Linked DNA regions of Homo sapiens: all the other regions are linked to region 4. Evidence: promoter capture Hi-C in 16 types of primary human blood cells and fetal thymus (Javierre and others, 2016). All regions are on one chromosome and are shown on one strand. The core of a region is centred on a gene start or on the middle of the fragment in contact, and the rest is flanking DNA. Distances in the headings are between cores, read along the strand shown.

What was found. Contacts are between HindIII fragments. The CHiCAGO score rates a contact against its expected background, and 5 or more counts as called.
Region 1: a fragment that was not itself captured here is called in contact with the fragment with the promoter of SLC36A4 in region 4 in 3 of 17 cell types (fetal thymus, activated CD4 T cells and total CD4 T cells); the score reaches 7.1 in fetal thymus.
Region 2: a contact is called between a fragment that was not itself captured here and the fragment with the promoter of SLC36A4 in region 4, in 5 of 17 cell types (total CD4 T cells, fetal thymus, monocytes and 2 more). The highest score is 6.2, in total CD4 T cells.
Region 3: a fragment that was not itself captured here is called in contact with the fragment with the promoter of SLC36A4 in region 4 in 14 of 17 cell types (total CD4 T cells, monocytes, naive CD4 T cells and 11 more); the score reaches 16.0 in total CD4 T cells.
Region 5: a contact is called between a fragment that was not itself captured here and the fragment with the promoter of SLC36A4 in region 4, in 1 of 17 cell types (M0 macrophages). The highest score is 5.7, in M0 macrophages.
Region 6: a fragment that was not itself captured here is called in contact with the fragment with the promoter of SLC36A4 in region 4 in 5 of 17 cell types (M0 macrophages, M2 macrophages, monocytes and 2 more); the score reaches 9.5 in M0 macrophages.
Region 7: a contact is called between a fragment that was not itself captured here and the fragment with the promoter of SLC36A4 in region 4, in 1 of 17 cell types (non-activated CD4 T cells). The highest score is 5.4, in non-activated CD4 T cells.

What each region holds. Positions count from the first base shown.
Region 1 is chr11:93,550,027-93,553,512 of GRCh38, forward strand. It overlaps a transcript of SMCO4 not described here. Among named protein-coding and RNA genes, the nearest start is that of SMCO4, 8.4 kb to the left of the region's middle. The HindIII fragment of the contact is 7,691 bases long and covers 1-3,486 here.
Region 2 is chr11:93,706,617-93,710,047 of GRCh38, forward strand. It overlaps CEP295 (centrosomal protein 295), which reads left to right. Exons shown (of 30, transcript NM_033395.2): 18 at 129-281. Among named protein-coding and RNA genes, the nearest start is that of SNORA25, 22 kb to the right of the region's middle. The HindIII fragment of the contact is 2,535 bases long and covers 1-2,518 here.
Region 3 is chr11:93,641,116-93,644,591 of GRCh38, forward strand. No RefSeq gene overlaps it. Among named protein-coding and RNA genes, the nearest start is that of CEP295, 19 kb to the right of the region's middle. The HindIII fragment of the contact is 6,443 bases long and covers 1-3,476 here.
Region 4 is chr11:93,196,193-93,199,588 of GRCh38, forward strand. SLC36A4 (solute carrier family 36 member 4) reads right to left here and starts at 1,799. Exons shown (of 11, transcript NM_152313.4): 1 at 1,586-1,799. The coding sequence starts at 1,640. RefSeq lists a silencer at 1,561-1,940. The HindIII fragment of the contact is 1,801 bases long and covers 616-2,416 here.
Region 5 is chr11:93,496,590-93,500,482 of GRCh38, forward strand. It overlaps SMCO4 (single-pass membrane protein with coiled-coil domains 4), which reads right to left. Exons shown (of 3, transcript NM_020179.3): 2 at 2,687-2,759. Among named protein-coding and RNA genes, the nearest start is that of SMCO4, 45 kb to the right of the region's middle. The HindIII fragment of the contact is 995 bases long and covers 2,041-3,035 here.
Region 6 is chr11:93,617,866-93,621,445 of GRCh38, forward strand. No RefSeq gene overlaps it. Among named protein-coding and RNA genes, the nearest start is that of CEP295, 42 kb to the right of the region's middle. The HindIII fragment of the contact is 1,041 bases long and covers 1,460-2,500 here.
Region 7 is chr11:93,685,653-93,689,041 of GRCh38, forward strand. CEP295 (centrosomal protein 295) reads left to right here. Exons shown (of 30, transcript NM_033395.2): 10 at 1,992-2,213. Among named protein-coding and RNA genes, the nearest start is that of CEP295, 26 kb to the left of the region's middle. The HindIII fragment of the contact is 3,336 bases long and covers 1-3,315 here.

The sequences.
Region 1 (3,486 bases), core at 12-2,511, 350 kb after region 4:
GCACCAGAGCGCTACTGAAAAGTTCAACCCAAATCTTCATGCTTACTGCCCTGTTTTCTGAAATTTAAGTCTCTAGCTAAAGAATGGGAAGGAATTCCTACTCTACCCCTGCTGCCGGCAACCAAAGCATGCTCTCAAGCCAAGAACACCAGTGAACCCTTTAAATTTCTCCACAACTTTCTCCCTGCTGGCAAATGTCAAGTTTCTATTTCAAAAGAAATAAGAGCGTCATTAACATGCCTGTCTTCATGCTCTTCTAACTCCTTTCAGAATTTTGGGGGGTTTTGCTTGAGAAAGTAAGACCACACTAAAATCACAACTCCCCAGGGTGTATCATTAAAGGTGGAACTCGGCCAGGCATGGTGCCTCATGCCTGTAATCCCAACAATTTGGGAGACTGAGGTAGGAGGACCGCTTGAGCTCAGGAGTTCGAGATCAGCCTGGGCAACATGGTGAAACCGCATCTCTACAAAAAATTTTAAAAAATTAAAAAATAAAAATAGCCAGGCGTGGTGGCACACCCTGGTAGTCCCAGCTACTTGGGGGGCTGAGGCAGGAGGAGCACTTGAGCTCAGGAATTTGAGGCTACAGTGAGCTGTTATCGCACCATTGCACTCCAGCCTGGGTGACAGTGAGACCCTGAATTTTTTTTATTTTTATTTTTATTTTATTTTTTCAGGGAAAGTATGTGGCAGAGAAGAAAAAACAAAAATGGAACTGTTGGTGTGTTTAGAAGGGAGCAGGGGAGCTCCACTTTTATTCCATAGGCTGTAAATAGCCCACTATCATTTTTAAATCCCAAAGTAAAAAATAACACTTAATTACCTTAACTTTCAAACCTATAACCACAAGATCTTCATTAGTGACTCATATACCAGCTGTACCTTTTGGTCTGGCACATTTTTTAACATCAAAGGTGTTTCCTATCAACTATGTCTTTTTCCCCAAGGGAGCTTCATCTTTATCAGAAAGCAATGAGAACGTTTCTAGTCTATACTTAACTCTTCAATCACTTCACATGTATTTACGGAACACCTAGTACATGCAGGCAATTTATCGAGTTGTGTGAATATAAAAGCAAAAAAGACATATACTCCTTTCCTTCCCTAGAGAAACTCACAGATCAGTGGAGAGAAAAAATGTATATAATTACAAATTTTACAAATGATGTTAAGCGTGCTGAAGAGAAAGAACAAGGTTCTATGAGAAAGTTTTATAAAGAGAACAAGTTTTATATTGAAAGGTCAGAGAAGACCTTTCTGGAAGTGATCTGAAAGTTTGACCAAAGAGATGAACAGGTATTGGCCCAGTGAGGAACCTCCTGGGGACGTGGTCCTCCTCACCCAAGGCTTCTCTATGTCTCGGACAATGATCAGGACAAGAAGTGCAACTTCTCGGTGCATCATTGCTTTCAGAGAGGAGTCTTGGGGCCCTGTCTCCCCAGAGGTGCAGAGGCAAGACAGGGAGTCCCCAGCTTCTTCCACAGGGGCTTCCTTCTCTATCCAACCCACACTCTGCTCTCTGAATTCCTGACTCCCCTCAGCTGCAGCACTTAGGTGAGTATTTTACTCCAGGTGAGTATTTTGCTAGTTCCTGTGCATATGCAGTCTCTGCACCTAAACTGTCAGTGCCTGGAGAGCGGATGGCTCTATCTAACTCTCCTTTTTTAATGCTCATAGTGTCTACAAGAGAACTTGATTCATAGCCACCATTCAACAAACACCTGTTTAATGGGATTGAATTTTCAGCATTTAGTAGTGTACTAAACATCTGATGTGAAATAAGAGCCAAATTAGGCAAAGTAAGCATGATTTAGAAGTGCAGAGATGGAAAGAAAATGGTATGAAGAGCATTGGTGTAGAAGTACTTCCTGAAACTTGAAGGAATCCATCTGGTATCGCTTTGATTGACTTTGTTAAGGACACAATTCCTAGGTTCTGAGACTCCTCAACTCTAAGATGCAACAGTCATTGAACAACAGTTTACTTTTTGAGGGGTGAAAAATGGCTGCTTTCAATGTTTACATATATTGAGAGCCATAGAGCCATATTCTGACTTTGGAAACACTAAAATGTTTCCAAAAAGTATGTTTTATAATTTAAAAAAAAGTCAGTACTCATCACTACTTTTTTTTTTTTTTTTTTTTTTGAGACACAGTTTCACTCTGTCGCTCAGGCTGAAGTGCAGTGGCACAATCTCGGCTCACTGCAATCTCCTCCTCCAGGGTTCAAGCCTTCCAAGTAATTGGGATTACAGGCATGCACCACCACAGCCAGCTAATTTTTGTATTTTTAGTAGAGATGGGGTTTCACCCTGTTGGCCAGGCTGGTTTCAAACTCCCAGCCTCAGGTGATCCACCCACCTCGGCCTCCCAAAGTGCTGGGATTACAGGCGTAGGCCACCGTGCCCAGCCACGTTATTATTATTATTATTATTATTATTATTATTATTATTATTATTTTTGAGACAGAGTCTCGATCTGTTCCCCAGGCTGTAGTACAATGGCGTGATCTCGGCTCACTGCAACCTCTGTCTCCCGGGTTCAAGCGATTCTCCTGCCTCAGCCTCCTGAGTAGCTGGGATTACAGGCACCCGCTAACAAGCCCGGCTAATTTTTGTATTTTTAGTAGAGACAGGGTTTCACCATGTCGTTTAGGCTGGTCCCAAAGTCCTAACCTCAGGTGATCCACCTGCCTCAGCCTCCCAAAGTGCTGGGATTACAGGCGTGAGCCACCGCACCTGGCCCACATTATTACTTTTAACAGGACTTTGTTTTCTCTTTTGCCTACCTCATGTCCACATCAATTTAATTTTTTTTTTGTAATAGTGCCTCAAATTCCTTTTAGGAAATTATTCTTCCTTATTATATACAGCCTGCTGGGTTATTTCATCAAGGTGTGCAACTTTCCCCTAGTGAAGGGATTGAGGGACACCCTACCCAAGCTAGACTATTCAGATGTGTCAACAGTGACCAGAACGTCAAAGGCCTGGCCACAGATGGAGCTTACTCATTCCAGGCATGGGATGTAGACAAGACTGTCCAGAGCTTCTGCTACAAAAAGCCTCTAAAACCACATGGTTCCAAAGTCCATTTCTGTTATTTACAGGCAAAGAATTCTAAATGGGACAGTGCTTTTTGCTGATAGTACATCTAAAACTGAAGTTCTTAATCTGAGGTCCAGAGACTTGGACATGGTTCATGGGTGGGTGTCAGGGTTCAACAGATAAGATATAATTTTTATATCTGCTGATGAGTTTATTTTCCCAGTGAGATGGTCTACAGGCAGCTTTGATCAGATTCTCAAAGGGGTCTATGGCTGAAAATGGATTAGAAACAATTGATCCCAGAGCAGGAGTTCTTAATAAGTCTGTGTATAAACTCAGATGGGCAAAAATTATATCTTTGTTTGTACTAACTTCCATTCATGGTTGCTTATTTATGAATGTTGGTAACAAACCACAGTATTATTAGCAATTCCCATGAAT
Region 2 (3,431 bases), core at 1-2,500, 510 kb after region 4:
TAAGGAATTATTGCTATATACAGTAAGTCTTTAAGAGCTTAGATTTCTACCCATAATATAAATTGGCACTTTAGTTCTAGCTATTAATAGTTCCAGAAATTGAAGTGGAAATATTTTTTCCCCCCCAGGTAAACCAGGTATTTATGAAGACAGAGACCCCCTGCGAGTCTCAATAAGCCGAGAACAAAGTTTCTTTGGGAGCCCACTGGCCCATGATCCGTTTAGTTGTCTTCAACTGGTTGGCCAAGAGAATGTCTGTGGTGATGACTATGATGAAGCAGGTGAGAAATAAATGGAAAGTGGAATTGTATGCACAAGGATATGTGGACAAAAGATATTTATTATTTTGTTATTTGTAATGGTGAAAAATGGTAAATAAACTTAGTTACTGCTGTTAATGGAATCGTTATGATGCAGTTAACTATATTGTTCTATGCAGTTGTTAAATGAGTAATTTTGCTTTTAAATTGTTTTATTAAATGCCAGTAAGAAGTTTATCAAGGTAGGAGTTTTATACAATTGGCAGCATCCATAAATTTTATGTTTAAGCCTATTTGTAACAATCCATATCTAATTAAATACTGTTAAATATTTTAAAAATTCTATCTGTGGGCATTCTAAATAAGCTGTTTTATGTTTATTTTTAAATATTTGGAAAAATAAAGATAATTAGAAGGAAAAATATTTAAATCACTTAATCCTAACACCCAAAGACAGCCAATGTTAATCTTCTCGCTTCTGAATTTATATATGTATATATATATAGCACAGGATATTTTATATATAATTTGTGTACTGATCCTACAAAGTATAGTTGTAGTACTATTTTATTAGTTGTAAGGCATCTTTTAAGAAGTTACATTTTGGCCGGGTGCAGTGGCTCACATCTGTAATCCTAGCACTTTGGGAGGCCAAGACTGGCAGATCATGAGGTCAGAAGATTGAGACCACGGCTAACACCGTGAAACCCTGTCTATACTAAAAATACAAAAAATTGGCCGGGTGTAGTGGTGGTCACCTGTAGTCCTGTAGGGAGGCAGGAGAATGGCGTGAACCTGGGAGGTAGAGCTTGCAGTGAGCCGAGATCAAGCCACTGCACTCCAGCCTGGGCGACAGAGCGAGACTCCGAGACTCCATCTGAAAAAAAAAAAGAAGAAGTTACATTTTATAGCCAGATTTATTTTTATTTTAGCTGTACACCTAGTAAGATAATTTACTTGTATCTATACAAGATACCTTACTTGTATCTATAGTTGAGTGGAATGAGAGATGAAGGAAAGGGATATTCTTTTGAGGGTTTATTAAAAAATTGACTTTAACATCTCTTTAAATTGTGGATTAAAATAACTGTAAAGGATATAATTTTCAGTGAGCTATAATTTTTGACATTTTAAAATAAAACAGATTATTCTTTTTTTAATTTTTAATTTTTGTGGCTACATAGTAGGTGTATCTATTTATGGGGTATATGGGATAGTTTGATACTGGTATACAATGTGTAATATTCACATCATGGTAAATGGGGTATCCATCACCTCAAGCATTTATACTTTATTACAAACAATTCAATTATAGTTTTAGTTATTGCAAAATGTACAAAGAAATTATTCACTATAGTCACCCTGTTTTGCTATCTAACTGCTTATTTGTGCCCATTAACCATCCCCACTCCCCCAACGACCCCCAACTACGCTTCCCAGCCTCTGATAACCTTTGTTCTACTCTCTATCTCCGTGAGTTCAGTTGTCTTAATTTTGAGTTCCCACAAATAAGTGAGAACATGTGAAGTTTGTCTTTCTGTGTATGGCTTATTTCACTTAACATAATAACCTCCAGTTCCATCCATGTTATTGCAAATGACATGATTTTGTTCCTTTTTATGGCTGAATTGTACTCCATTGTGATACGTGCCACTTTTTTTTTATCCATTTGTTTGTTGATGGACACTTAGGTTGCTTCCAAATCTTGGCTATTGTGAACAGTGCTGCAGTCAACATGGGAGTGCAGATATCTCCTCAGTGTACTGATTTACTTTCTTTTGAGTATATACCTAGCAGCAGGATTGCCGAATCATATGGTAGTAATATTTTTAGTTTTTTGAGGAACCTCCAAACTGCTCTTCATAGTGGCTGTACTGATTTACATTCCCACCAACGGTGTTCCCTTCTCACCACATCTTTGCAAAACATTCATTATTACCTGTCTTAGATAAAAGCCATTTTAACTGGACTGGCAGGATATCTCAAAGTAGTTTTGATTAGCATTTCTCTAATGATCACTGGTGTTGATTGAGCACCTTTTCATTTGCCTGTTTGCCATTTGTATTTCTTCTGAGAAATGTCTGTTTGGATTTTTTGCCCATTTTTTAATCAGGTAATTAGATTTTTTCCTACAGAGTTGTTTGAGCTCCTTATATATTCTAGTTATGAATCCCTTGTCAGATGGGTAATTACAAACATTTTCTCCCATCCTATTGGTTGTCTCTTCACTTTATTGATTGTTTCATTTGCTTTGCAAAAGCTTTTTAATTTGATGTGATTCCATTTGTCCATTTTTGCTTTGGTTTCCTGTGCTTGTGGGGTATTGCTCAAGAAATCCTTTGCCCAGACCAGTGACCTGGAGGGTTTCCCCAATGTTTTCTTTTAGTAGTTTCAAATTTGAGGCCTTAGATTTAAATCTTTAATCCATTTTGGTTTGATTTTTGTATATGGTGAGGGATAGGGTCTAGTTTTATTCTTCCATATGTGGGTATCCAGTCTTCCCAGCACCATTTACTGAAGAGACTCTCTATTCCCCCATGTACGTTCTTGGCACCTTTCTCAAAACTGAGTACACAGTAAATGTATGAAATTGTTCCTGTGTTCTCTATTCTGTTCCATTGATCTGTGTGTGTCTCTTTTTATGCTAGTACCATGCTGTTTTGATTACTGTTGCTCTGTAGTATAATTTGAAGTTAGGTAGATTCCTCCAGTTTTGTTCTTTTTGCTCAGGATAGCTTTGGCTATTCTGGGTCTTTTGTGGTTCCATATAAATTTTAAGATTTTTTTTCTATTTCTATGAAGAATATCATTGGTATTTTGATAGGGATTGCATTGAATCTGCAGATTGCTTTGGGTAGTATGGACATTTTAATAATGTTGAGATTCTTCCAATCCAGGAACATGGAATATCTTTCCATTTTTTGTGTGTCCTCTTTAATTTCTTCCATCAATCTTTTACAAGTTTCATTGTAGAAATCTTTCACTTCTTTGGTTAATTCCTAGGTATTTAATTTTCTTTGTAGCTGTTGTAAATGGGATTACTTTCTTGATTTCTTTTCAGGTGATTTGCTTTTGGCATATAGAAATGCTACTGGTTTTTGTATGTTGATTTTGTATCCTGCAACCGTACTGAATTTATCAGTTATAATAGTTTTCTTGTGGAGTCTTTAG
Region 3 (3,476 bases), core at 391-2,890, 440 kb after region 4:
AGTTATTAAAACAAACTCAGCCAGGAGCCATTACGGGACTAGGTCAGGACCACACAGTTAGTTACTGACAAGCTGAGATGGGTCCCACAGGCCCCAGATCTGCTGGTTTCAAAAGCAGAGCACTTTCCACCTCACAACATTGGCCCTGATGTAGGGTTGTTTGGGTTTTGTTTAAACAATCATTGAGGACACAGTGTCTATAATTTATTTTACATCTTCTGCACAAAGCAGCTTCTCGGGGATTATTCTTCACAGACTAACTGCAGATAGAAGTAAAAGAGAAAAGTTGTAAGAGACACACCATCCAGAAAATGAAGATGATGAAAAAAATTCTACTGATAAGGACCTTGACAAGAAAGCTGGAGAAAGGCTTTAATCTATGGATTTCTGGTAACCCTGGAAACCGGCACCTCTGAAGCACTGGGATAAAAATCCTCAAAGGACTGGGATGAAGATTAGTAACATCATTAGATAGATGGCAGACAGAGCCCTTTGAGAAATAAATCAATACCCATACAGATGCAGAATACCAATATAGGAACCTTCCCCCACCAGGTGATGCCCCGTGGCAAAACACTGTGGCCATGTCCTAGGTATACCAAACATCAGTGGCTTTGACAGATGATGTGGCCCTGCCATCTTGCACTTTCACCCGCCTGATCCAAACTCTAAGCACCAGCAGTCCAGGCCGTGCCAGAGGCTGAAGGAGCAGCACTACATGAAGAAAGATCACTGGATTGGGTATAGAGAAACTAATTAGGTAAGTCACTTAATCCCTCTGTCAGTTTCCACATCCATAAAATGGGGGATAATAAACCTGCACTGCCTCCATCATAGGCTTTTTGAGTATCAACAAAGTTAATCCACGTGAAAGTGCTTGGGAAATCATGAAGGCTGATGATAAATTATAACTAGTGTTACAATGACTAGTTTTTTCCTGACCATGCAGGCATAGACACCTGAGACCCAGATTCACAACTATCTTGAAGAAAAGTGGTACAGGGGCCAGGTGCGGTGCCCCACACCAATAATCCCAGCACTTTGGAAGGCTGAGGCAGGCAGATCACCTAAGGTCAGGAGTTCGAGACCAGCCTGGTCAACATGGCAAAACCCCATCTCTACTAAATACAAAAATTAGCCGGGTATGGTGGCAGGCGCCTGTAATCCCAGCTACTCAGGAGGCTGAGGTGTAAGAATAGCTTGAACCCAGGAGGCAGAGGTTGCAGTGAGCCGAGATTATGCCACTGCACTCCAGCCTGGGGGATAGATCAAGACTCTGTCTCAAAAAAAAAAAAAAAAAAAAAAAAAAAGAGAAGAAAAAAAAAGAAAAAGAAAAAGAAAAGAAAAGTGGTACAGTACTATGCAGAAGCCACCAGCAGCTGGGCTGCTTGAATTGTTTGTCAAGCTGGGTGCTCATAAATACAGGTTATTTAGAAGAGACTAGAAATAAACCAGGGAAGGGCCCCTAACAAAACAACTCCCCTACTGGCAAGCTGCATTGCCTCATATTGCACCATTACGGCAGTCTTTTCTTAGTTGAAGCATTGTCCTTGGGAAGATTTTAAATGCAAATTTTCCTAGGAAGAGTAACATATTGACTGGTTACCAGTCATTTATTCTGAGTTAGTCTATTCACAGATTCCTCAGGTAGTGCTCTTAAACAAGGAAATTAAACGGTAATTTCAATAGTGGGAAAAAGATTTGGGACACTGAGACAGGCCTTGAGAGGCAAATCTGGGTAGTACATGTATTGAGTGGGATGCAAGACGGCAGAGGAGGCACAGTTTCCAAACTCGTGAGATGAACACTAAATAAAGGAGCGGTAAAGACTGCTGAACCAAACTCACTTACACTTTTTCTCAAGGTCTAAAAGGGGAAGAATTGGATCCTGTGCTTCTTTGCCTAATCCAAGTTCCTGTTTGCACTGATTCTTTGTCTTTTCCTCTAGGTAGCAGAGTTTACCTTGATATTGCTCCAAGTAATAGAAAAACAAAGCTAATTTAACATTCTTGATTATTTCTCCTCATATATCACCATTTATCCCAGACAAGTAGCTATCTGCAAGGCTCTCCTAATGGGTTTTTTAAATCAAAAGTTCTTTAAAGTGGGTTGGAAGGCTTTTAATATAAATTAAAAGCCTTCAATATAAATTATTGGACTCATATAATAAGTCCAATATAAATTGGACTTATTATATAAGTCCAATATAAATTATCTATTTTAAGAAAGAAGTACTCGATGTCCAAAAATGATCCTCTTAAGGCCATAGACCTGGGAAATGTTCTAGAACCCTCACTGGTATAACATGCTGCCTCAGTTTCCCCAGGGTGATCAGTGTGGAGAGCAGAAAACAAGGCAATGAGGGTCAGCAAACACCAGATGGACAGCTCACACTACTCAGATGGACCCTAACAAGCTGTGTTCCCAAAGTCTGCACATTTGTGAACCTTTAAGCCAGCCAGCTCATCCATGTCCCAGCTAGCACCTATCAGGGAACACAAACTGCCCAGGGTGTCCATACAGTCCCACTTGATCCCACCCTTGCTCCGAATCCCTGTGCTCCTCAGTTCTGGTGGATTGTAGCCTTACTGGTCTTCCCTTTCATTTATGGCCCTGCTGTCATGCATTGTACTTGACCCCTGAATTTTGATCCCAAATGTGTTCCTCAAAACCCTCGACTCATTGCAGTAGACTAGATTTACTTGCCACCAAATATTCTGATTCTCCTTTCTGTGAGGATTATAGAAGCCTTCCCTGTTGAACTCCAGAGTAGCTAAGGCTGACATGGCCAGTGAAAAGTGAGAAGTGCCACTAGGAACCAGAGCATGGCTTGCCATCTCTTTTCCCCAGGTCTCAACAACAGGGAATGCTTCAGGAAGAGACTGGCCTATCAGCCTGGACTCAGCACAGAGATGTGGAACACAGCTGCAACTGGCCCATGCTGGAAATAGGAGTGAGAAATAAACTTTTATTGTTATAAATATTGATATTTGGGAGTCTCATTCGTTACTACAGCATAACTGATTCACACATCCTTGAATTCCTACCACATACAGCAACTTCATACAGACAGACTGCCAGGTTTGACTCCAGCCCCAACACACCTTGATCTTCAGAGAGGAAAGATAGGCCCAGGGAAAAGCATTGTGATTTTTGATGATTTCAGCACCTGGGTAGTGGTATGTCATGTCCTGAGACCTCTGATTTCATCTTTCTAAGTTAAAACCTTTAACAAAATCTCATCTCAGAACATATAATCCTACTTGATACTAGGGTCACCTTTGAATAAACTAAGCATTATCATATGGGAAGGCCGGGGTGGACTCTCATTACATGGATCTCTTTTAGACCTTATAAAACGAAATCAACCACGTAGCCTTCCCAGGCCATCCTTCTACTCGTTTAGTAAATTACCAAACTCGATACAATACTACAAAATTGAATTTCCAAAAACCCAGCCATAATCATTAGAGGTG
Region 4 (3,396 bases), core at 549-3,048:
CTTTTAATGGTAGGCAATGTAAAACTATACCACAATTTAACCAATTTCCTTTCATTGTACTTTAGTTAACAGCTTTTCTCTATATACTATAATGAAAACCTCTTGATATAAGTATGGGTTACATTACTTATTTCCTCGGGAAATATTCTGAAGGAGAATTGCTGGGTCAAACGATAAGCACTTTTTTTTTTTGAGACAGAGTCTCGCTCTGTTGCCCAGGCTGGAGTGCAGTGGCACGATCTCGGCTCACGGCAAGCTCCGCCTCCCGGGTTCACGCCATTCTCCTGCCTCAGCCACCCGAGTAGCTGGGACTACAGGCGCCCGCCACCACGCCCGGCTAATTTTTTGTGTTTTTAGTAGAGACGGGGTTTCACCGTGTTAGCCAGGATGGTCTCCATCTCCTGACCTTGTGATGATCCGGCCGCCTCAGCCTCCCAAAGTGCTGGGATTACAGGCGTGAGCCACCGCGCCAGGCCGATATGTACATTTTTAAGGCTAAATATATTATCCCTTTCCTGCCAGCAATGCATGAGAATACCCATTTCTCCATATCCTCACTAAGACAGGTTATTAATGAATGAAACCTGAGTTCACATTTGGGTTCTGCCATTAATAAGCTTAAAATTACTGTATCTATAAAATGGAAATCATGATAGCACCTATCTCAGTTGCTGTGAGGATTAAAGACAATGCATAGGTAAAGCACTTAGCACAGTGTTTGCACACAGTAAGCACGCAATAAAATGTTAAGTTTATTGTTTCTACCATTATTACGGCCTGAAAACAATTCCATTGCAAAGTGCCCTGCAGGCTATTAGAGGAATAACAACAACCTATCAGTTACTTATAATACGGTATTTTTTAAAGTTCAACGGTTTTCTTGAAGATTCCATTTAGATTTAATTTTTTAATTACATTTAATCAGCATCGAATGAAAAATACTCCCAAGTACAGTACGTATAACTGGGAGAGCGATCATTTTACCACCCTGATCCTTACTTTTTTATTTTGGACAGCGGGAAACCGTAAACAAACACGCCCTGTCGCCAAGAAACAAGATGGGAGGAAAGCAGCAAAAAACAAACAAACTTTGCCAAGTGAGCAAGCTACAGGTATCTCCTGTTCATTCTGGTCAGCACGACCTGTTCGAAACTCTGGGATAACAAGGAGTAAAATGAGGATTCATCTGGAGATTCCGAATGGGGCTGCAGCATTTGAAAAGCAGAACAATGATAACTTCCTTAAAGCATCATTGGGAAAAAAACCGTGAGTCACGGCGCAGGCTCTTGCGTCTTTGACGTGTACCCACAGGGCCCCGCCCCACTCAACACACACACTCACCCACACGCGCGCGCGCAAACACACACACACATATTTTAACGCCCTATTCAGGCCTGGGCTTCGTCTGACCAAGTTCTCGGGGTCAGATAACCGGTTCCTTTGCGGATGCTGACCACGGGGTCAGTTAGCAATCGGGCCTCAACTCAGGCCAAGCGCGGGGCCCCTGGAGGTGTGGGCGCACCCGACTCCCGCACAGACCCCCGCCCACGTCAGCCCCGGCTCCCTGCCCACGCACAACACCGACCTAGCTCCTCGCGCCTCGCCGCCCCGGCAGCCGCCGGCGTCGCCGCCGCTTCCATCTCTCGCGGGTCTCCAGGACGCCGCCGCCCGAGTGCTCACTCTCCCGCCGCTGCGTGGCCGGCGTCAGGCCCAGGCCTACCTCCCCTGCCCGGAGGGACCCGCGCCTGGTGCCCGCCTCCCTGCCCCGGCGCTCCCCAACCGCGCGGCGAGGAGCATGCGCAGTGGGACAGCCCGGCTCGGCGGGCACCGCCGGCGAGGGGCGGGAGGGGCCGAAGACCCGAGGACTGCTGCGAGGCCGGGTTGGGTAACCCGAGAGGAGGGTTGGGTAACCTGAGATCAGCGAGGGTGGGACCTTAGAGCTAGCCGAGACCCGGGCCCATAGCTCCCTGGGGGTTTTAAAGATGACGGCGAACTTAAATTTGGGGCGCCTGTCCGTATGCAAGGCGTTAGCGTTCTGTAAGTCACCTTGGAGAATGCGAAGAAGGACGGGATTTGTCCCCTACCCATGCTGAGGTTCTGACTACTCTGGTTATTCGTCTCCCTGTTTCTATAGTTAGAGTTACAGGAGACACTTAAATAGAATTTAATTAAGTCATATACAATTTCACTTTCAGGATATTTCAATGTCCTTCCAGATATTTGACGTTGACCGTGGTGCTGAAAGAAAATTAAGGTAAAGACTAAGTGTACTGATGTAGTTTCAAGTACTCCTAAGCACCATACATACATTATCTTTAATTCTGACTACAATTTGTGAGATAATTCTAATATTTACATTAACGCTAAAGATGAAGGGATTAAGGCACGGAGGTAAGTAACGTGTCTGGGGACAGGAAGCTTGTACATGGCAGAAGTAGAATCCTTCTGCCTTCAGAGCTGGAGCTCTCGAAAAATATGCAAAGCTGGCCTCCCAGATGGGTACCAATGAATATTCGATGAATCAATGGATGAAGCAAGCTTTTGGTTTAAAAGGAAAATATTTATTTTAATTTTAAAATCGCTTTCTTTTTTTTTTCACTTCATAGTTCTTGGAAGTCAGTACACCAGACAATCCTTTTTATTTGTGTCCGTTTCATTCAGTGGGGTTGCTTTAGGAAAGGGTTTTTTTGGGGGGGAGTGGGTCTGATTAACAGTCACTGATGTAACTATATGGCAATGGTGTTAAATATTTAAAATTCTGAGATTAAAAAGGTACGCAGTTACATACTATCTACATCTTTCCTCCTGTTGCATCCTCTGTAGGCTTTCACTAGATAACTAGTGATAATGACAGTTTGCCAACCCCCTTTCTTTTCCTTTAAGTGAACCCAATTTGTTCACATACATACACATGCAAATCCCAAAAGAAGGTTTTATTTGAAGTGTTCCTGACAAATAAAGGGGTAAAGGAGATTTTTTTTAAAAAAGAAGAAGAAGAAGAAATCTATTCTGGAACATAGCTAGAGCAATGTTCCCTAACCTGTGTTGGGGTGGATCACCTGGTTAAAGATCAGCAGGAGAGAAGATAGGCATCAGACAGAAATTATAGGACCAAGGTAATTTTCCATAAACCACTCATTATAATGAGAACATGTGGGACAGCATCTTAAAAGAACATTATCCTTTGAGAGTTAAAAGGGATCAAAAGTCATTGTCCCCTAATCTCAGCTTCAGGGAAAGCAGATCTGGCAATATGGAAGGAAGAAAAGTTTGACTTGTAGTATAGGCCTGAAATCTTTTGAAGAGGGTTGGGCTGAGGTAGGAGGCCCAATGTCTTTACAGTGATGTGGAGATAAAGCAAGTGATAACAATGATCATAAGATTCAAGAGAAATAT
Region 5 (3,893 bases), core at 1,288-3,787, 300 kb after region 4:
TATCCTCTCATGGTGTCGGAGGTCCTGCCACTGTGCCAATTCAAGGTGGGCACAACCACTGAGGAGCACCTGGAACCCCACTCAGCCAGGACACATGAGGGTAGCCTCTATGAGGATCCTCACTAATGCAGATCCAGCTTTGGGGTTAAGAAAACAATAACCTTAACAGTAAAATGGTGCTTGCATCATGCCACAACTAAAAGTAAAATGTGAAGCCTGTTTCCTTTGATTACAAGCATCACGATAGGCTTGCAGATTTCTCGATACTGATGCTTCAGATTCCCAGTAAAAGGGTGTTGGTATCTGGTCCTGGGCCCCAACGCTTACACTATGGGGAGTAACCTGTTTGGGGGATTCCAGGTTAGAATTTCCCACAGGAAAATGTTAATCTAAGAGAGTATCAGAGGAAGGTCTCTCAACATAAAAAGACCAGAGATGGTGGCCTGTTTTAGGAAAACAACAATTCACTGAAATCACATCCTGCTTTTAATAGCCCCCCTTCTAGAATAGAAGCTGGTTTTTTATTATGATGGTTCTATTTTCCCATTTCCCCATCAAAGGACAAATCAAAATGTCACCTGACAATCCACTTTCATTAAAAGTTGAGCAATTTTTTAAAAATCACAGTTAACTAAACAATTCCACATGGCAATAAAGCACTGTGCTCTGCTGCCTTGACTGATAGAAACCATTTGCAATGATTTAAAAGAGAAGGAAGCGAAAGAACATCATCAGATACAGCTGAATTAAGCTGATCAAACCTGTTAGTGTCTTCCAGTTTACTCAGAGTAAGACAATGCAGCATTCATGTAAGCTAATTAAATTTCTTGTATTTAAATTAGCCTTAACAAAAACAAAACTTTCAAGACTGACTGGAAGGTCTCAGGAGGAACATATCTGCTTTTTCAAGAAAGCTGCCTGGCTGAGGGTGGAGGGAGCACCAGGGTCAGACTCTCAACAGAAGGTCAAGACTCCCCTCCCTCAAAGGAACACTGAGGGTAGAGACGGTTCTGTGACACTGTTAGTTTGCCATGGCTTCCAAAGGGGGGTACCAAGATCAGATGGTTGGGGGGAACTGAACCCCATTCACATCAGTTCATGATGTTATGCAAGACATTGAACTTCTGAGCTTATTTCCCAACTTTGAAAATGAGAAGTTACCACTTGCCTCTGCCTGCTTCCCAGGACTGGTGGGAGAAGAAAATCTGCCGACGTGTGTCAAAGCACCTTGCAAAAGAGAAAGCACTCTACAAATGTGAGAGACAGTTGCTGGTTACTGTTAGGCAGAAAGGGCTGAGTCAAGTCTTCCAAGATGATGGTGACCAATTAAACTGATTTTCTTTTTTTTGAGAACTGTCAGTTGATTATTTATTTTGTATAAAAGTTACATTGAAAGAAGAGGTTGAAAAGTCAAGTATACTAGATTTGCACACACTTGCGAAGTCTCACAGGATTCAACCACTTGGATAATTTCTTAATTGATAACAGGATATACATATTAAAAGCCTCACACTGAAGCCCAATACACGTCAAACCCAGACAACAATGTGCAGATGAATACGCAAAACAATCTCTGGAAATTTGTATCTCTGGGAACACCCACAATCTATGCTTTGTCCCTCTGGCTATGATGCATAAACTCATAAAATTAATAAGAAACTTTTATGGGATCTTTAGCAGTTACAGTAAACAGTTTGAGAAAAGGAACCTGCTGACTTATTCATTTAAAGGACAAAGGTTGGGGGCAGGGAGGTGGGTTAAGACACAAAGTCACTGAGTGAAGCAGTCGAGAGCATGGCACAGATGGAGAAGGTGATCCACCTGTGCAGCAGATAGGAGGGGCTACAACCACAGCGAGACCTAAAGCCCCCCACATGCAACCCCCACTCACACCCGCCACAAGCGGAGAAGGGGGCTGGGGAGCTGTGCTCCAGTGACCACTGGCATCCAGCTCTGCCTGTCACCTCCCTCCCCACTTCTGGATTCCTGCTCTTAACATGGGTCCAAAATCAAATGTGAAAAAAAAGTATCAGATACAAAAGCTTTGCTATTAGCTTCATTTCACCAATAGCCAAAGGACACCTGGCGAAGATCAGGAATTTCGGATGAATGCTCAAAGATCATAATGTATTTAAGAATGATTCCTAGTACAGGCCCAGTAAGGGAGGCGTGGTGGGGGTACAATGTGGGTCCACACAGGAGCAGGCCTCTTGTGGAGAGGCTCCTTCATGAGTCATTCGAGAAACATTTATGGAATACCGACTGTGTCCCAGGCACAACTCAGATGCACCCTTAAGCAGCTTACTGGGGAAAACACAAAAACAGGCAACGAGAATAAAGCGTGGAAGTAAGTACTATGATGGGGGGTGTGTCACAGACCTCTACCCGACTGGCCAAGAGAGGAAGGGTGAGACCATCAGGGGAAGGGCAAACGAGAACACAAACATCACAGGAAGGAGAAAGTGTCGTGGGGGTTCAACAGCAGGAGAAATCACCCGCAGCCTGGAGGAGATCCTCCACAAAGGACAAAGGTGGCATTTGATAAAGATCTTGAGGGATGAAGAGGAACTTGGCCAGGCAGAGAGAAGGGGTAAAATATTACACACAAAACTAGGCATATGAGAGAAATGACTGGGACAGTAACCTCTCCCCAGACAATGAGTTTCCCTTATAAGAGAATGTTTACCTTTTCTTCAACTTCAAGAATCGTTGATTAATTTCAGCAAACTGATTTCCAGTACAGGTGACTTGAGTTATTCCTGTTGAGAAATTAGAAGAAAGGGTATAATAGCTGCTGGGGAGGTATCCCTCCACAGACTCCTTTTTTGGAACCCCCTCAGCCCATGCTGAGAGGGCAGTCACACGGTTCCCCTCTCCCAACTGGCTTAGGGATAGACACTTGTCACCGCCCTGCTCCAGAAGGGCAGACAGACAGATACACTGGCACATGTGTGCATGTGCGTGATGGACAGGACCAAGCAGCCCCTGCATGGAGTTAGAGGGGCCTTCCCACTCCTGTGCCCAGCAGGCAGTCAAGCTTTGCTTCCTGTATTCCTGGGATTTCTACAACAAACTCGCTGCTAACTTAAGCCGCCATGAGACCATGGCTGTTCCCTGCAATCAAAAATCACTGATTTAAAAATGAAGGATACAGGTTTGGGATTAGAAAAGAAACAAACGCGGAAGGTGAAGGAACAGAGGCTTTTAAACCAAAGCCTTGGGAAAAATAAAAGATGAGAAAGTGACCCAGGCATCCGAACTACCGTCCCATAACATCAGAGAGGAAAGGAAGAGAGATGTGTGACAGCCACAGAGGACAGCCAACAAATTAACTCAAAACCTCAGTGGCATTAAATATTAAGTTGGAAGCCCAGATACTGGGGGAAAGGAGCTTTTAGTATGGGTATTACCCATAAAGCAAAATAAATAAGAGTTCCCTTGAAAGTAAAAAGGTGGGAGACTCCAAAAAGTGTCCATAACAAGCAAGACATAATTGAGTAATGGTACAATGCCTATCATTACTAAAATACGTAAAGATAAATCTTGGTTTACCGTGCTTTTTGTTTTGTTTCAAACAAACATTTCATTTCAAGGTATGGTGGGTCAGCAATCAGTGCTGAGTTCAGCTGGGCTTTTTCTTCTGGTCTTGCCTGGCTTATGTATGTGGCTATAGGCATCTGGTTGCTCCACTGGGCCAGATGGTCTCAGATGACTTTGTTCATGTTAGTGGTTGGTACTGGCTGCTGTGCTGCCTTCATATTCTCTTGCAGTAAATGTAAACAGTTGTTGTTTTTTTATTCCCAAAGAGCTTCACAGATGTATGCCCGACCTCTATCCTCGCCATATTTTTCCATTAGTTCCTGAGTTGGGCAATCACAAACTTACCTACTGTG
Region 6 (3,580 bases), core at 730-3,229, 420 kb after region 4:
AGTTCTGCCATTGAATGCAAGCAGAAGTCTGCTGATGATTTCTGAAAAAGACTCTTTCATTTTCTTTCTTCTTTCCACCTGGAATGCAGATGCATGGCTGGGTGGCTCCATGGCCACTTTCGATCATGAGGCAACAAGCATGAGGACAAAGACACCAACAAACAGCCAAGCACCAGGCTCATGCCTGTAATCCCAGAACTTTGGAGGGCCAAGGCAGGAGGATCACGTTAGCCCAGGAGTTTGAGACCGGCCTGAGCAACATACTGAGACCCCATCTCTACAAAAAGTTTAAAAATTAGCTGTGTATGGTGGTGCATGCCTGTAGTGCCAACTACTTGGGAGGCTAAGGCAGGAAGATTGCTTGAGCCCAGAAGTTCAGGGCTGCAGTGAGCCATGATCTTACCACTGTGCTCTAGCCTGGGCAACAGTGAGACCCTGTCTCAAAGAAGAAGAAGAAAAAAAAGACACCAACAACCTAGAGATAGTAACGTGGAAATACAGGAAGGACCCGGTCCTCCATGGCATTAAGCAAGGGTCCTGCACTGCTTATCTCTGGACTTCTTGTTATGGGAAAGAAACAAACCCTATTTGTCTAAGCTACTTTGGATGGGTTTTCCATATTTTGTGGCTGAACACATTCCCCAAACCATCCCTATACTAGCCCTTCAGTTCTCAGCTGAGGCATTACCTTGTCTGAGATCACCCCAAGCCTGGGTGACTGTATTAGCTTCCTAAAGCTACCGTAACAAATTGCCACAAATTCAGTGCCTTAAAACAACGTAAATTTATTACCTCATAGTCCAAGAGGCCAGAAGTCCTAAATCAAGGTGGCCATAGGGTTAGTTCCTTCTGGAGGCTCTGAAAGAGAAATCATCTCCCAGCTGCTCTCCTGGCTTCTAGCAGATCCCAGCAATTCTTGGTGTTCCTTGGCTATAGCTACATTACTCCAATCTGCGTCAGTCTTCATATGCCCTTCTTCCCTCTGTGTGTGTGTGTGTGTGTGTGTGTGTGTGTGTGTGTATGTGTTTGTGTGTTTCCCTTAAAAGGACACCAGTCATTTGATTTAGGGCCCTCCCTAACCCAGTATGACCTCATCTTAACTTGATTACATCTGCAAAGACCCTATTTCCAAATAAGGTCACATTCACGGTACTGGGGTTAGGACTTAAACATGTCATTTGTAGGGACACAATTCAACCCAACGCCCCCTTGGAGACCTGTACTTACCATGTTAGTCACACACCACACTCAATTCATTACACTATGAAGAGCCTATATAATGGGACTTCAGACTGGCTTCTTGTTTCAGCCATCTCACTAATTATTTTAATGATTTTTAGCTCTGCAATAACTCAGTTTCTTCATCAGTTATATGGAAATAAAAATACTTGCTTTGTCTACAAGGTTAACATGCAATGCCACTGAAATAATGTAGATGACACAGCCTTGAAAAACATAAAGCTTTTTTAAGAAGTGAGACCTTTTGGAATTCCTCTCCTTCTTCAACAGCATCCTCATTATTCACCTCGGATTTTTGAATTTTTAACCATGAAAAGGAAAATAGGAATGAGCTTGGGTAGCTGGGAACAGTAAGTAGAGACAAGTGAGCATTCAACCTATTTTCTGCTTGCAGAGGGTACCCCAAAGACAGGTCAGGGGGAAGCAGGAGAGGGGCTGGAGCATTATCAATTGGACCAGGGCTGGGCTCAAAGGAAATGGTCCTGAGATGGCAGGCTGATGGGCCACCAGGCAAGCCACCAGGCACTTCACAAGCTGCAACTTCAAATACAATCTACGTTCTCCAAATTTTATCTTTCGTATTTACCTGGACCTCACAGCCTTGCTATCATTCTTTAGGGGTTCTAAAAACACAAACTGTTTAAAACGTAAGAAAAATACAGTAAGCAATGTAATAAAAGCACTTGTTATTCCTACTCAGATTTAACATAGGATAATATTTTGCCACATTGAACCCAAATCCTTTTTAAGAAACAAAGCATAAAATACAATGAAGTCTTCGCTTTGTGATGCCAGTTCCCTCCCCCATTCCCATTGTTTTGAAGTTGGTGTGTATCCTCCTGTGGTTTTGATACGTTTCTGCATATGCAGGTAGCCATATTAAAAATATTTAATGTCATTCCCTGCATTTTAAAATTTTCATAAAAGCATCATTCTGTATATACACTGCACTTGCTTTTTTTACTCAGCATGACTTTGAGATTTATCCCTGTTGCTACATATAAATCTAGTTTATTCATTTTAACTACTAAATGTTATTACATTATATGAATAAACCACAGTTCATTTTTCTATTCCCCTACTGTGGAACAATTAGACTGTTTCTAATTTCTTTAATATTATAACCAATGCTTCAGTGAACAAACTTTTGCATTCCTCTTCATGCCTGTGTATGAGAGTTTCTCTAGATCTATCCATAACCAATAACCATACAAGTACTGGGCTGTAGGGTATTCACATCTTCAACTTCACATAAGTTTTAAGCTTTAATATAATTGGAGTTAATCAGTTTATTCAATATGTTTTGAGCTTTGGTGTCTAATTTAGGAAATACTCGTCTCCACTTAAGGTCCTAGAAATAATATCATATCCTCTTCACTTGTTTACATTTAAGCCTTTAATTCACCTGAAATTAATTTTTGTGTATGGTATGAAGTAGGAATCTAATTTTGTGCTTTTTCATATGTATGGCTGGTTGTCCAGAACCATTCTTCAAAGGGTCCATTCCTTCTGCATTTATTCATAACCCATCCTGCTGGTATAGCCATTCCTCCAAATGGTGGAGGCTAATCGTCAGCTCTTTGTACTTTCTAAATTCTTCAAAATTCTCTCCTGCCTGTTCTTGGCTAAGTACTTTCTTAAGGAAAAATTTTAACTGGGTGAGTCAAAGCTGTCAACTTAAAGGAGCAACATATTTGATGGAAGAAGTTTAACTAAAAACCTGTTAGTACCTTTTGTTAGTGAGCAGAAGGCAGGCTTAGAAAGAGTCTGAACATAAGAGACCTTCAGATAGGGAAAGGAAGCAGTGAGTCTTGACTGGTGTGGCCCAGGTCAGGGAAGACCTGAGGTGGGACATTCTGGAGGGCTAGATACTTGAGGAAAGTGGAGGCAGGATGCCCCATTCTGCACCTTTCACGGCTTGCTGCAGGGAACCCCTGCACTACTGGGTCTCTAAGCCTCAGATTCCTAATATGTAAAATGGGTATAACAATACCATCCTTCCCATGCTGTTTTCTAGAAGATAGAAATGATGCACCTAACATCACACCTAACACACACTAAGGGAGCACTTAATGAAGAGTAGCTATACTTGTTATCACTATCAATTATCATTGGTTTATCCAGATTCATTCAATAATACTGGCAATCCTCAATTTCCTGGAACAAACTTTTAAGCATCAGTTCAAATGCATTTTACCATTGTGTTGGATGTCTCCAAAAAGGGCTGTGTATTAGTCCGTTTTCACACTGCTATAAAGAAATAACTGAGACTGGGTAATTTAGAAAGGAAAAAGGTTTAATTGATTCACAGTTCTGCATGGCTGGGGAGGCCTCAGGAAAC
Region 7 (3,389 bases), core at 398-2,897, 490 kb after region 4:
TTCTGTCCTCTGCAGAACCTTTTCTTTTCATGCCAGGTCAGCTGTGTCTTTGTTTGTTTGTTTGTTTGTTTGTTTTGAGATGGAGTCTTGCTCTGTTGCCCAGGCTGGAGTGCAGTGGCACGATCTTGGCTCACCACAACCTCCACCTCCCGGGTTCAAGTGATTCTCCTGTCTCAGCCTCCCAAGTAGCTGGGACTACAGCCACACACCACCATGCCTGGCTAATTTTTGTATTTTTAGCAGAGACGGGGTTTCACTATGTTGGCCAGGCTGGTCTCGAACTCCTGACCTTGTGACCCGCCCACCTCTGCCTCCCAAAGTGCTGGGATTACAGGCATGAGCCACCATGCCCGGCCAGCAGTGTCTTTAAAAAGATATTCTTACAGCCAGGTGCGGTGACTCATGCCTGTAATCCCAGCACTTTGGGAGGCCAAGGTGGGAGGATCATTTGAGTTCAGGAATTCAAGACCACCCTGGCCAACATGGTGAAACCCTGTCTCTACCAAAAATACAAAAATTAGCCGGGTGTAGTGGCGCTCACCTGTAATCCCAGCTACATGGGAGGCTGAGGCAGGATAATCGCTTGAACCTGGGAGACAAAGGCTGCAGTGAGCCGAAACCACACCACTGCACTCCAGCCTGGGCAACAAGAGTGAAACTCCATCTTAAAAAAAAAAAAGATATTTTTACTCTTTCATGCAGCTTTTTCAGTTATTTTCATTGGGAGTATCAATATCTAGTTTGTCACAATGGAAGTCTTGCCCAATCTAAAGGGACAGTTACACTTTAGCTCCTGCTGATCTCATTTGGTCTTATTGGCTTGGTGTTGCCAAGTTGTTTGTTTGTTTGTTTGAAGCTAGAAATCTCATTGTTTTTAAAAATCCTTACTTTTAAATATTGGCAATGAATTTACTTCTTAAAAATGAGTGGGTTGTGGACTAATGGTAAATGAAAGAAGCCAGGCAGAAAATAATACCTAAATGTGTGATTCCATGTTTATATGAAGGTTTTAAAAAAACAGGCAAAACTAATCTGTGATCTTGGGGTTAAAGTAGGGGCTGTTTTTAGGGGTGTATTGACTGGGAAGGGACATGAAGGAACCTTAGTCCTGGTAATGTTCCACATGATCTGAAAGGTGGTACATTGACATATGTGAAATTCAGTAAGCTATACACTTAGGTTTTTGTGCACCTTGTTCTTTGTGAATTATAACTCAATTGGAATTTTTTTTAATATAAGTTAGACAAAACTACAATCTGCCTATTTTCAACCTCTTAAAGATATTCTTAAATTTTATTCCTTGACTAAGCCAGAGAAATATGTACTTGCATCACACTTTTGTCCTCTTAGAGAACTGTTCGTATTATACTGAGTTTTGGCATTAAACTATCAGCCCACATGGGAAAATGTTTGAAGAAATACTTGTGTTGTTTTTTTGTTTTTGTTTTTAACTGAAGGGATCTCTGTGTGAAGATGGGTGGGAGACATTTTTCCCAGATAGTGCCAAGAATAATTTGGGAGCAGTTGATTTGCTTTTATGGCTATGATGTTTTCCTCTGTAGCTCACTAAGAAATACAGAGCCATATTTGGGACCATTCTCTAGTGTAGACTATAGAACCTCACAGCATATATTTTCAATACTAATCTTACCAGCAAATTAATTAGAAGTTACACATTCATTTATCATTTAGCAAGCAAAATAAACATCTTCCTGATAAGTTTTTTAGGCTTGATATTTGTGTTGCATACATGTTTTTGGAAAATACTTGAATTTTGGCACTTTTACTATTTTCAGTTGAAAAAATTATTTCTAGTTATAATGATTGGAGTCAGATAGCATTGTTGTATATACTGTTAAATCGTAAATATGAGGAAAATAAAACTGTGCTTTTAACTAGTGGTTATAGCAGTAACCGAATATAAGATGGAACAATTTGCCTGGTAATACAATAGATGCTAAATAAGTTTTTTCCCTTTTTCTTTCTTTTAGTTCCCTTGGTAATGAAGACCCAACAGATTCCTTCAAAAGTTCTTTTTAAAAAATTATTAAATAAGATCCGAAGCCAAAAATCTCTCTGGACAATTAAATCTATGTCTGAGGATGAAAGTGAAATGATTACGACTGTTAGTGAAATTGAGAGTAAAGCACCAACGGTTGAGTCAGGAACAATTGCCAGCAAAGAGAGAACGTTATCCTCTGGGCAGGAACAAGGTATTTCTCTCCAAGAGTCTCATTTTCTATAAACCCTTTTAAGTTGTTCAAAAGTAGGTTCGTTTCTGAAAAATCAAAGAATAGAGGTTAAAAGGAACAAAACATAATCCTGCTAATTAAAAGCAACAAAGAAACATTATAAAAGCCTTAGTGAATCTTCTTCCGGACCACTTTTAATCTAGTATAGTTATTTATATATATTAATTGCAAAGTAATCAATGAATCAAAATTAACCAGTTCCTTATTGAGATGTTCAGGCTGTTTTCTAATTTTTCTTGGCATTTTTGTGCTACAGTGGGCATCCTTTTAGTGAAGTCTTTGCCCACATCTTTATTTCCTTAGGAAGGACTCTTTAAAGAATAACTCCTGATCAAAGGATATATGAGCATGTTAATGGCTTTTGAGCGTGTTGTATTCCCACTAGGTATTTAGTTTCTTATTTGCTAATTTTAAATACTTTTCTGATTGGAAAAATAGGCTATTAACTATATTTCCAGAAGTTACAAAGTATCTTTTCACACACAATTCAAGTATCTCCTTGATTGGGATGATTTTAAAAATGTGATTGGATTTGTATAGAAATGTTTTGCTTCTATGCTTTTGATAAGAGTGACTTGTGGTCTATATTTGGGTTTTGGATTTTATCCTGAGTCCCACAGGAAGCCTTCTTGAAGTATTTTCTTCCCTTGGCCCCTTGACAGCACCTTCACTTGGTTTTCGTACTTTACTATTTTCTCTTGCATTTTCTTCGCTGTTTATCCACATCTCCATAATGACTAACCATTGTTAGTCGTTGGTTAGTCTACAGCTCATTCCGCAAGTCCCTTCTCTTTATATCAAAACTCCCTAGTTGATCTCAAATGTCACACTTTACATTATCATCTGTAAACTGATGTCTCCCAAGTATGCATTTCTATTTTTGGCCTCCTGTTTGAACTCACCTTACTTATTTAACTGTTTCCTTCTCTTGTATATCTAATAATATCTTAAATTTCTTCAGAAGTGACCTGTTGATATCCCCTCCCACCACATACCTGCTTTTCCTACAGTATTCCACATTTCAGTATCTGGCAATATGTTAATTCCCTTGCTCAAGCCAAAAAGCTTATAGTCATTCTGGTTCCCTCTTTTCATATCTTATGTATCTTATGTCCAAACTATTAGCTGATCCAGTTG